2 separate regions of the Homo sapiens genome follow, and region 1 is linked to region 2. Evidence: promoter capture Hi-C in 16 types of primary human blood cells and fetal thymus (Javierre and others, 2016). All regions are on one chromosome and are shown on one strand. The core of a region is centred on a gene start or on the middle of the fragment in contact, and the rest is flanking DNA. Distances in the headings are between cores, read along the strand shown.

Evidence for each region. Contacts are between HindIII fragments. The CHiCAGO score rates a contact against its expected background, and 5 or more counts as called.
Region 1: a contact is called between a fragment that was not itself captured here and the fragment with the promoter of BEST1 in region 2, in 8 of 17 cell types (erythroblasts, neutrophils, M1 macrophages and 5 more). The highest score is 9.6, in erythroblasts.

What each region holds. Positions count from the first base shown.
Region 1 is chr11:61,909,139-61,915,455 of GRCh38, reverse strand. All of the region lies in intron 1 of RAB3IL1 (RAB3A interacting protein like 1), which reads left to right. Among named protein-coding and RNA genes, the nearest start is that of RAB3IL1, 5.3 kb to the left of the region's middle. The HindIII fragment of the contact is 2,236 bases long and covers 3,035-5,270 here.
Region 2 is chr11:61,945,145-61,951,656 of GRCh38, reverse strand. BEST1 (bestrophin 1) reads right to left here and starts at 1,306. Exons shown (of 11, transcript NM_004183.4): 1 at 1,230-1,306. It also overlaps a transcript of RAB3IL1 not described here. RefSeq lists a silencer at 5,445-5,608. The HindIII fragment of the contact is 17,311 bases long and covers 1-6,512 here.

The sequences.
Region 1 (6,317 bases), core at 2,903-5,402, 39 kb after region 2:
GGGTGGGAGTGATCGCAGGTCAGAGAATGTCCTTCCCTGGAGGCACCCAGGCCAAGGCCAGACACAGCTGAGAGCCACCAGTAGATGGATGGTTGCTTCAAGGAGAGTCAGAGAGCCTTATATCCTGGGCAGGGACCCCTCCCCACCATCCAGCCCCCCTGCCATATTCCCAGCAACACTCTGGATGAGCCAGCTGCCAGGCTGACCCCCACAGAATCCTCAGTATGGCTCACTTCCTGCATGCACCCCTGCACCCCCAGGGGCCTAGCTGGGTGCTGAGCTCATATCATAATGGGTGCTTCATAAATGCAGATGGAAAGGATGAGGGGCAGTGAGAAGCTGGCGGAAGGGGTGAGGCAGAGCTTGGGGGTTACCTTGAGCTCTGTATTTTTATGGCCCCCCATTTGGGTGAGGAAACAGGGATTTAGAGTCAGGGGCCAAGCTGCTAGCCCCCACTGGGTGCCTGGTGTCCTAGGAGCTCACCCAGACCCCAGCAGCAGTTGGGAGGTGTCCTGTTCAGAGTCATACTTGCCAGGTTACTCTGACCAAGTCTGATGACAGCTCTGGCAGGTGTATATTTGGGACTGTTGATCCTAGAACAGGAGGAGCTGGGATTAGGAGTTGGTGACCCCAGCGGGGCCAGTGATGTTTCTGGGCTTCGTTTCCTCACCTGTGAAATGAACTGAGATCTTTCTCTTGGTGGCTGTGCTTTGTTAATGGCCAGGTCCTGGTCATGGCTCCAGCCCTGGGCTACTCTTCTGGGGTGGGCGGCAGTGGCTGGACTCTGCCACAGCCTGGGTGGGTCCTCTTCTTTGGGACTCCTGAGCATGGGCCCTGAACTCCAAACCCAGAGGCAGCTCCAGTCTGACTTTAGGTGCCCCTCCAAACTGGGTTGTCCCCCTTCCGATTCCCCACAGTTTCACACATTCATAGTTTTGGGTGCCAAGCCTGCTCCAAGGTGACGAGGTGAGGACAGCGTCTTGAGTACTTCTGTATCTAACATGGTGCTGGACACTTGGGACTTGGTCAGCAGAAGCCAGCGTTCAAGTTTCTGCATGACACTGTTCCAGCCCCCTGGTCTCAGTTTCCCCAGAGACGGGGCTCATCATACCTATGGCTAGAGAGGGCCAGGCATTGATGGATGGCCCAGGAATGAGATGAGACCACTCCAACCTCCCAGGGGTTGGGGAGCATGTTTTTGCGGCAGGCAGGGCTGTAGGGGCCATCAACTGGCTGTGTGATCCTGAGCAAGTCACTTCACTGCCCTGGGCCTTGGCTATTCTAAGGGCATGGATCTGTGGGCTCCTGCCTGTAAGGCCCAAGTCACAGGGGACTAGAGGCCGTGAGACAAGAGTCTGAAGTATGGCCCGAGGGCTCCAGGTCAGGCACACAGGCCTCTTCATTGGGAAGGGGTTGTATAACCCTCACTGTTGCTGCTCCCTGGAAGCCCTCCGTGATCTAACTGCCTACTCTACCCCTCAACAGGTGGAGATCTTTCCTGCTGTTCCTTAATCAGGACATGGGTGTTGGGGGCAGACATCCTCATTAGAATCCTGCTTGTCCTAGACCCTCCGAGCTCTGCACATGATTTATGCCCAATAGGTCTTTGGAAATGAGGTAGCGGGAGGGAGATGCAAATCAAAATAGGATATGGTAAGAAGGGGGCTGCCTGGTCGTGCAGATTGGATGGATCATGGCTGGTGGGGTGCCTGGCACATAATGGGTGCTCAGTATACACACTAGCTATTGGAGGTCTTCGGTGTCAATTCTTGGACTGAATGGGCAGGGTCGCCACAGGCGCATTTGAGGATGTACTGCGTGCCCAGCCCTGTAGAAGAGTAGTGAGATGCGCCCCCTCCTAGGCCCTGTGCTGGCTCCCATGGAGAGACAGGGCTGGATTCCCCCGCCAGGGGTGGGCTGGACTGGCCTGGTGGCCTGGGGCTATGGCCGGCGGAGGCGTGGCCTGACTCACCTGCTTTAGGTGTTCTGATCTGCTTCCCATCCCCAGCTGTTCCTGACCTTCTCCCCCACTCCTCCTCCATGGTCTCTACTAGGACATGCTGTTGTGCCCTTCTCCCTACTCTGGCTCCCCTTCCCCTGTGGCCCAGGCCCACCTTGGTTCCCACCTGTCCCTTTGTCCCCTCCTTGACTTGAGCTCATTGGTTCCTGGCCCAATTCAGTGAGACTCATGACGATCTCTTTCATCCCCGGGTCCCAGACACTCTTCGGCTCTGGTGTCCAACACTCTCGTCCTTTCTGGCTCTCAAGCCCTTGTCCTCCCTGACAGCCCCTCATCCAGGCTCAGGCTGCAGCTGCTCCCCGAAACCAGTGCCACTCGACAGCGTCACCCCATCCTGCCTATTCCCCCTCAGCTGCCTACGGGACGTGCCACTTCCCAGATGCCTCAGCCACCCACTTTCCTGTCCCTGAAAGACCCCCTCCCAGTTCCTCACTCCCAGCATGGGTACCGCTGTTCTCAGCTTTCACCTTTTCCTTAGTTTTGAATTATCTTAATTATTGTTATTGCTTTTTCCTGCCCCCCCATCCAGCCCCTGTTCCTCCCACAATTCCCCCTTCCCATCTTTGTTTCTGTGTGTCCCCTCTGCTGTCCCCTCTTAGCCCAGGTCCTGCCTGGCTGTACAGCATTCTTGGGTGGCACCTCCAGTACTTGGGCGCTGTCTCAGACTTCCTCAAACCCCATCTGCCTCTTGCCTCACTTCTCCAAAACCGCCATTCATCCCCTTTCCTCTGGGTGACAGGCCACGTGATACGCTATGCCTGTACTCTGCATTCAGTTCCCATCCTGCCACTTCCTTGCTGTGCATTCTGGCCAGGTCACCATCCCTCTCTGAACCTCAGGGGCCTCATCTGGAAACCAGGTGGAGGAGCGCATCTCCCTGCAATTGTCCCGAGCTTCCAGGCCATGACACCTGTGGAGTGGTGGGCTGGCGTGGATGTGGCCTAGCGCTTGGGAACCTGACATGCTTGTGGGTTTGGGGCTGAAGACTTGGCCGCTCTCTAGGGGAGCCAAGCTTTGCTGGGCTTGCAGGCTGGCCTGAGAGCTGGCCCACCAACCCTTTCCTGGGACTCCCTTGGTCCCTGGATGTTAATCACATGGCTGTGAGCCTCCGTCCCCTCAGTGTCACCGCAAAGGCTGAGCGTGAATCTGAACAGGCCCCTGTGCCAAGGCACCGCCCCGGGGAGCCAGGCCCTGGGTCGGGGTTTCTGCAGCCTCCCTAGAGGCCTGGGCCCTGGCAGCCCGCTGAGTGGTCCCAGTGTGCCCTCCCAGCCGTCTCCTTCGTCCAGTTTCAGAACCACCCTTGCTGTCCCCTCCCCTGCTTATTGAATGAATCCATTGTGCCCATGACCAACAGGGGTCTTTAGTTCCAGGAGGTAACTGGACAGGGTCATCTTGGGCACTGGTTGAGGAATAGGCTGGTCTGGCCACTGGCCAGGCCCTGCTGGCTTGGGGACACTGAGAGACCGAGGGCCACGGAGTCTAGGTCTCCTTCTTATTTTGTGGGTCGGGGCAAGAGCCCTGCTGGCCCTCCTAGGGTGGGCCTGGTGGGGTGAGGATTGTGGTTACTGCATTTTCTTTTGGTTGTGTGTTTCCTGGGGAAGTGACCCGTGGGGCCTTTCCTGTATGAACTGCCTGGGCCTCTCGGCAGTGGGAGCTGGCTTTGGGATGGGGGATGTTGGCTGGGTGCCCCATCTACCTCTGACCTTGACTCCTACCCTCTGAACAGGCTCCTTTCCAGAGGCATCTGTGGCTCATCTCAGATGCTGGGCTCTGTTTCTGCAGGGAACGGGGACTGAGGAGGTTTGTACAGAGAGCGGTGGACCCGGACTGAGGAGGGTAGGGACGCTGGGCAGCAGAACATTAAGTGGTCCCTGCTTGCCCCACGACTGAGTTCACCACTGACTTGGGTGTTCACAGCCAGGTTTTCAGGCCTCTGGTCTGGGAGGCTAAAGTGTGTGTGAGATTGGAGATTCTGGCTTGGGCTGGACCCGAGGAGCCCAGGGTCCCTTCTTTGAAATTTCTGAGTCTCAGGAGTTGGCCTTGCAGCCTGGAAATGAGGAGGAAGAGGGTCTGCAGATTCTGGCTACCCTCCAAGGGCAGGTCAGGCCCTTCTTCCCTCCTGCTCCTGCCACCTTTGGCGTTGGGGAGTTGGTGGCTACTGGGTGGTCCCACTGTTCCCATGTTCCCACACTTCTTGCCATTGGGATTTGGCCTTGGGCTCTTCTACTGGGGGTGATGGGAAGGATGTCACAGACTCTGTCACAGGCCTCCTGGACCACTGTTTCCTCTGGCTACAAAATTGGGCCCTGTCCCCACTCTGCCCCACAAGGCAAAAATGAGAGCCTGTTGGGAAAATGGTGAGGTCAGCCAGCCACACCTCCAGCCTATGTGCTTGGGACCAGCAGGAGAGAGAGTTAGTCTTTCACTGTGGCCAGAGGCCCAGACCACACTGGTGGATGAAGCTCGGCCCCCATGGGAGGGCCGGCAGCCTGGTTCTCCTCGGTCAGGGCATAGGCAATTGCAAGAGTCCTCTGTCCTGTCCTGTGCTGTCACCTCTTGCCCTTGGCCTGCAGTGAGCAGCCCCCAGCCCAGCCTGAGTGACTATGGCCATCCTGTCCTACCTGAGGACTTGGGCCATGATGATTAAGGTGGGGACACATATCCATCACTCCATCAACAGTGTCTGTGCCAGACAGGGCTCTCAATACCCTTGTTCGGGGAAGTCTTCTTGGCAAGGGTCCACAGGCCTCCAGTTTAAGCTGTGGGACCCAGAGCCCAGGCAGGCTTCGTGAGTGTCTCAGCCAAACATGGCTGTGGATTGAACATGATTCACCCAGCACCAGGTCAGGACTGCTCTTAGAGCTCTTGATTCTTAGAGCACCTCCTGCAGGATTTCAGCTCCTATCCCTCAGGTGCAGAAGCAGGTTCAGAAAATTTCAGTAGCATTCTCAGGGGCTCATGTGTACCCCAGGTCAGAGGCTGACATGGACCCCAGGCTTGCCCCATCTGGCCTGTTCTCTCTGCCACAGCTCCCCCTGCCCAGGCCCTGCCTTCTGGAAAGGGGGTTTCTGGGCCTGCGCAGAGTCTGAGAAGCCAGTTCGGGCCAGAATTGGGTCAGATTTCCCTACTGCAGCCAAAGAGGAGCCTCCGAGTCTCCCTGGGCCCAGCAGCGCTTTATCTTGAAGCAGATGCGCCGATTCCAACACTCACACTCCGCACCCACCTGCCCTTCCCCTGCAGCGGGGAAGCTTTGGGCCTGGGCTTGAAGACCTGGCCACCTGTCCCAGCACTGTCACTGACCAGCTGCGTGACCCCTGACAAGTCCCTTCACTCTGTGAGCCTCCGTCCCCTCATCTGTAGAATGGGACAATACCACGAGTGCTGTTGAGAGAGTTTTATGTTTGTTTGTTTGTTTTGAGACAGAGTTTCGCTCTGTCACCCAGGCTGGAGTGCAGTGGCACAATCTTGGCCCGGCTAATTTTTGTATTTTTAGCAGAGATGGGGTTTCACCATGTTGACCAGGCTGGTCTCGAACTCTTGACCTCAGGTGATCCACCTGCCTCAGCCTCCCAAAGTGCTGGGATTACAGGCGTGAGCCACTGCACCCAGCTGCTGTTGAGAGAATTTTAAAGGAGACAGCGTGGTCAGAGACCTGTGGAAGAGTCTGGCAGAGTGAGTCCCCAGGGCACAGACCCCAGCCCAGGGCTCCGCCATAGCTCTCAGGCTGCGGGGAACCCTTGCCAACAAGACTTCCCCAAACAGGAGTATTAGGAGAGAGCCCTGTCTGGCATAGACACTGTTGATGGAGTGATGGATATGTGTCCCCACCTTAATCCTCAAGACCCACATCCCTGCCAGGCAGGACCCAGCTTGAGGAGCCTTGAGGCCACACTCTGGGCCGGTTCCAGAGCAGAGGGCAGGTGGGGCTGGGCAGCTGGACCGGGCTGTGTGAAGGGACTCATTGCTGGAAGTGGGCTCCTTGCAGGAGTCTCTGGGGGCCCATTTTCTGTGTGTTAACCAAGGGAGAAACTGAGGCTCAGGGGCTGCTTGGTGACCTTCCCAAGGTCCTGAGGACAGGGAGGGGAGACTGGTCCACAGACTTGCCTCTCACTCCTCCCTCTGCCTCAGCCGTCCTGAGTCCCACTTTCTCCTTGGCCTTGCCTTCCCCCTCTGGTGCAGCCTCCCTGAGCCCCTCCCCCCAACTTCCCTCACTGATATCAGTGGCCCGCCCAGCCCCCCATCCCCAGCCCTGGTTGCTGCGGCTCAGAAGCTGCTGGCTCAGGAGCCTCCAGCTTTT
Region 2 (6,512 bases), core at 57-2,556:
GGATGAAGTGGTCTCCAAGGCCCTGCCAGTTCTGACTGCCTTTTGGAAGTAGAAACGCAAGAAAGTGAGCCCAGAGGCTGCCCTTTGCTTTGGCAGGGAAGACGTAGATAGGCGTGTGCATTGCCATGTGCCTTTAACTTTCTATAATCACTGGGCGCAGTGGCTCATGCCTATAATCCCAGCACTTTGGGAAGTCGAGGCAGGTGGATCACCTAAGGTCAGGAGTTCGAGACCAGCCTGGCCAACATGGTGAAACCCTGTCTCTACTAAAAATACAAAAAAATTATCCAGGCGTGGTGCGGGTGCCTGTAATCCCAGCTACTCAGGAGGCTGAGGCAGGAGAATCGCTTGAACCCAGGAGGTGGAGGTTGCAGTGAGCTGAGATCACGCCATTGCACTCCAGCCTGGGTAAGAAGAGCAAAACTCTGTCTAAAAATAAATAAATAAATAAATAAATAATACAATGACAAAGGCAGTAACAGCAGCAATGTCTACACACTAAGCTCAGGTCCTCTGGGCTAGGCAGTGTTCTCAGCCCATCTTGTTCGTTAGCTCCCAAGCTCTCTCAACCACCCTAGTGTGAGAAGTATGGAAGGGACCAGGCAGCCCTGTCCACCACCATATTCCCATTCCCATAATGGAACCTAGCTGGTAGAGATGCTCAAATGATGTTTACTGAATGGTGGCTCCAGGGCCTTTCCACCTGCTGATCTTCCTGCCTGGAGGAAGCTCTTCCTGAGATACCTGCATGGTTCCTTCCCACTCCAGGTTCCCTTTAGAAAGGATGTTCCCAACCATCCAACCTGGAAATAGAGCCCCACTGCCACCGGTGCTCTGTGTCTCCTCACCTTGCTTGATATTTCTAGAGAGCACTTATCACTACTTGAAATTATACAGGATATCTGCCTGTTTCCTGCCTGTTTCCTCCTCAGAATGGAAGCTCCTCTTGTGTTCTCGTAGAAGGCGCTCAATAAAAATTTACTGAAGCAGTGATTGATGCCCCCTCCATTCTTTCCCTGTGTGTTTTGCTGCAGCCACACTGGCTGGCTGTGCCTGATGCACACCAAGCTCATTCCCACCTCAGGGCATTTGCACAGACACACAGGTGCCCACACACCTGCGCATGTGCTGCCTGTGTGTGCATATCCCACACAAATACGCAAGATGGCCATCCAACCCTGAAGGCCTCAAAGCCCCAGCCCAGTCCACCTGGGGCACCTTGTACTCACAGGTGGGGTTCCAGGTGGGTCCGATGATCCCACAGAAGGTCTGGCGACTAGGCTGGTGGGACTCCCTGGGACTCTGTGGCCAGTGCCCCTGCCCACTCTTAGAGGCTGGCACTGCCCACGTGAGTGCTGAGCCGCCGTCACTTGACTCCCTAAGCCAGGACCTCCACAAAGGAGTCCTTGTCTTAGTCCCTTCTTGTAATCTGCTCAGAAGCAACGGCTAGCACAGCCTGGCCATGGCCCCTCTAATTTCTTCTTGGAGGGTGTTGGGCTGAGACCAGGGCTGGAATTTAGGGCAACACCCCCTCTACCATGGCCCTAAAATCCAGAGGCTAAAGGATCTGCTCCACCAGTGTTCTGACCCCTGAGGCCTTGCAGAGAGAGTTGGGGGTTAGGGGGCTGTGCTGAGCTTCAACTTCTGTGCCAGGAACTCTCCAGGAAGGAGGAGCCTCTGACTAGGCCCTGGGGTCTTTGACAGCCCTGTGGGCTATGGAAAGAATGAATACCGGGCTGCAGTCAACAGTCCTGGTTTCTGGTCCCAGCCTTGCCACCTGTGTGTGGTGACCCCGGGTAGGTTTCAGCTCCTCTCTCAGCCTCAGTGCCCTTATCTGAAAAGGATGGTGTTGCTTGGGAATTTCATCACCCTAGTAAAATGACAGAATTCTGCATATGCTGACGAGGAGCTCTGATTGGCTGCTGGTGACATCATACGTTATTCTGGCTGTGATTGGCTGGCAGGGCCCATCAGTAAGTTGCTTCAGAGAGATGGAAGGAGAAGCCTGCCGGGGCTGGTGGAGGGGGGTGAGTCTGGTGGGGGTTGACAGAACAGCCCTGGAGTTTATGCTGCTGGCTTCCAGCCAGCCAGTGCAATATGGGAATAAATGCCCAGATCCCCACGGGCAGCTGGTGAAAATCTCAGCATGTGATTCAATAAATTTTAATACATCAATCCATACTCAAGGGCTCTCCTAAGCTGTTGGAAGTGGTGGGTGTCTACCTACACACTCCTCTTGTATTGTTCAATGAAGAGAGCAGAGCTCTAGGCAGCAGTGGTTCTTGGTCTTTAGAGGCCGTAAGAATCGCCCAAATGTTTATTAAACGGGCAGTTTTCTGGATCTTTCTCCAGAGTCTGAGTCTGTGGCCTTAGGGATGTTGCATTTTAATCAAGCACTGCAGGGGATTATGAGATGTGTGGTTTTGGGACTAAACTTCCAGAAGCCCTGATTTTATAATATGACCTTGTGTCTTAAACCCACTCTCATCCTCCCTTTCCTGTCACCCTCTCTCTCTGAAATGTACTAAGCGTTAACTATGCTGAGATTGCAGGTGATTTTTCTACACACCACTTTTTTTTTCACTTTAAGTTCTGGGATACGTGTGCAGAATGTACAGGTTTGTTACATAGGTATACATGATGTGCAGGTTTGTTACATAGGTATACGTGTGCCATGGTGGTTTGCTGCACCTGTCAACCCATCATCTAGGTTTTAAGCCTTGCGTGCATTAGGTATTTGTCCTAATGCTCTCCCTCCCCTTGTCCCCCACCCCCACACACCATTTTTGCCTTTATATAATTATCTGCCTAGAAAAAAAAACACTATTTCGCAATGACCTTGAATACTTTTCTAATCATGGCAAACAATAAAGCTGTTGTTATTATAAGACTCTCTTTAGAGGCAGCCTTGTAGGAGTATTTACTGCCTCCCCGCTGCCCCATCGCTGTCCTCAACTGATATGGGGAAAGAAGCAGGTTCACTTCAGCCTCAGTCTCCTCATATGCAAAATGGGACAACGATGCCTACCTTGGCAGCCGAATGAGAATGATGGATGGGACATGTGTCCGTCAACTCTCCAAACCACTGGTGCCTGTGCCTGACCCCTACGAATTCTGATTTGATTGGTCTGGATGGACCCCAGGTGTTGGGATTGTTCAAGTTCTCCAGGTGATTCTGATTTTATGGCCTGTGCTGAGTCATTGCTTAATGGATTATTTCCCTATCCTGTATTCCCTTCCCAACCAACACATCCTGAAACTCAAGAGCTTTCCATTTAGAAGATGATAAATATATATTATATATATTTATATATTAACATATGTAAATATGTATTAATATGTCTATAATATTACAAATATATTTGTATGTACACATATATTTATACATATAAATATATAAGTAAATATATAACTATATTTTTGAGACAAGGTCACCCAGGCTGGAGTGCAATGGGTGTGATTTTGGCTCATTGCAACCTCCACTTCCCAGGCTCAAGCAATCCTCCCATCTCAGCCTCCCAAGTCGCTGGGACTACAGACGCACACCACCACACCCAGCTATTTTTTTTTTTTTTATAGAGATAGGGTCTCACTACATTACCCAGGCTGGTATTGAGCTCTAAGTTCAAGCAGTCCTCCCACCTAGGCCTCCCAAAGTGGTGGGATTACAGGAGTGAGCCGCCACACTCGGCCAATAAGTATGTTTTAACTAAAGTTAACACACATGCCTGGCACCATGCCTGGAACATTGATGCTCATTCTGTACTCTCTGAAGGAATAAATGAAAATCCTGCCTTTGTGGAGACAAGTTCTTGCCTTCCCTGTGGTGGCCACTAGAGAGCGTGCTTGACTAGCTGGCTCTGGCTGGGGAAGCCTGGTTCACTGGTCAGGATCAGTGCAGACCACGGAGCTGGCACTGCTTCATCTCCCTGACCCCGACCAGCAGCCATAGAGCCATGAGAGGGAGTTGGAGACACTAGAGTCCCTCCTCCCTGTTCCCTGAACCGCAGGCTCCTTGGCAATATCCCAGGAGTACCACCAGGACCATAGACAGTGCATGGCCAGTCTCCCTTCCCCTCCCAGAGGCCCCAGCATGTCCCCAGAGACATCCCATGAGCAGCTGCTCCTGGCCCTGCCCCAGAGCTGAGACAGGCACACCCTGGCACAAGTCATGGTCTCTCCTACTGGGTCTCAGCTATGAAAATGTCCCCAGTTAGCCAGGCACGGCTCAGGCACACAGCAAAGTCATGAGTGCTGATTGACCCAAGCCATGCCTGGAACAAGAGTCCCAGGATTGACCCCTGCAGAGATGGCACCCAACCCAGTCAAGGTCGCCCTCTTCTGCTTTCCGTTCCGCAAAGAAAATATTCGCCAAACCATTTCTCCTTCCAGAACTGAGCCTAATCTGATTCCTGCCTGTACGTATTCATAGTCAAAAAATTTGGAAACACTTAAATAACAACTCTAACACAGAATGGCAAGGCCTAAGATCTGTGCCAAGTGCACAGAGGTCAGGGAAATTTTTACAGACAATGGGGCATTTCGGTTGGGTCTTGAAGCATGAGTAGGAGTTCATGGAGCTGAGAAGAATGGAAGAGCATTACACATCAGGGGAACAACCTACGGAAAGTCATAGAGCTATTCCTGAAGGATGATTCAGTATCGCATGTTTATCCACATTTTACAAAGGAGGACACTGAAGCTCAAGGCCTGCCTTGTCCAAGGTCACACAGCTATAAATGGCTTGAGACTAGGATCTAGGTCTTTTGATTTTGGATCCTGAGCCCTTTCCCACTATCAGCTCTACAGTAAAGGTCAGTTTCTGAGAGGTAGAGTCTTACCTGCTAGGGTAGTGGTCTCTCTTGGGGTTGAAGGGAGGTCCAAAGGATGGGGCCTGCATGAAAGATACTTTTTTTTTTTTTTTGAGACGGAGTCTCGCTTTGTTACCCAGGCTGGAGTGCAGTGGCATGATCTTGGCTCACTGCAACATCTGCCTCCTGGGTTCAAGTGATTTCCGGCTAAGTATTGTATTTTTAGTAGAGATGGGGTTTCACCATGTTGGCCAGGTTGGTCTTGAACTCCTGACCTCAAGTAATTCACCCGCCTCGGCCTCCCAAAGTGCTAGGATTGCAGGCATGAGCCACTGTGCCTGGCCGCATGGAAGAAACTTTGACTGCAGCAGATTCCAAGCTCTCGAGCTCCCCAGCAGAGAGCCATCTCTTGGGGCAGCAGGGCAGAGCTGGGGAGATGCGCGGGGGTGCCAGACACAGAATGCTATGGCCTTCTCATCTAGAATTACCATAGCAACAGGAGCATCACAGAGGGCCTGCCTCGGTGCCCTTCTAGGCCCTGCCTCAGCTGGGCAGGAAGAAGGAGACCCAGCTTGGCTGGGGGCAGTAGGCAGGGGGCCCCGGGGTAAGTCAGCCAGGCCTGGATGCTGCCTCCAGGCTTTATGTGGGACACCTGCCAGCCCACACCCCTCTCTTGGGCCAGTCACAGAACAAATAGGGCAGAGGCCAAGAAAGAAAAGGAGGGGGCTTGGCATAGCTGGACAGGGGTGCTGGGGGACACTGCCAGTCCAGGGCCCGGAAGCCAGACAGACAACAGCACCTCCACCCTGAGCTCAGGCAGCCCTGATCCCTGAAGGACGGAGTAAACTCAACATTCAAAGAGATAGAAACATAAGCCCTGGGCACCACAGAAAGACGACAGAAACCAGGAGAGGCTGGGATACACCTAGGTCCAACTTCATCAAACCCAGTCCTGCCCATGACAACGGAATAGCATGGAATAGACCAGAGCTGGACCAACTAGAGACACAAGGCAAGAGGATCCACTGTGCTGCGAGGTCCCCCATGGACTCTGCCAGGCTGCAGTCGGCCAGGTGAGGCACTGACCACTATCCACCTTCCACCCACCCCCACCCCTCCAGCTCAGAACTGGGGCTCGTGGCAGGTGGGTAGCGGAAAGGACATCATGGGTCAGGCTTCTCCTAGACAACTGTGCAGGGCCTGGATGCTGTCAAAGGTTCACACCCAGTGAGTAGCCTCAGTGTCTTCAGCTCAAATGGGCATGTTGAGTTTGACGTGCTGTGAAAGAATGGTAAGTTTCTAGTCCAGCTGCTCATTTTGCAGACAAAGAAACTGAGGCACAGAGAAGGAAAATGACTTGCCTGAAGTCACAGTAGGCCGCCTGTCTAGGTGAGTGCAGCAACTCCCCGCTGCCCCAGGATGCTCCTGCGGTTCGCTTCCACGGCGAGCACTGAATGCCGACCGACCGTGTTTAGCGCTGCGGTGGCCACTGTGAGAGGGAAAGAATAGTAGAAACAATCAGTTCTCCCCATCTTGACCACTTACCAGGTGTCAGGCAGTGCACTAAGCGCTCTTTAGAAATGTCATCTACTCATCAAAACAACCCCTGGGGAAGAGGAAGGGTCATCCATCTGTCAGGTGGATGGATGTTGGAGAGGACGGCACAAGGGTAGGCTAGATGAGGAGTAAGCCACATTGGCC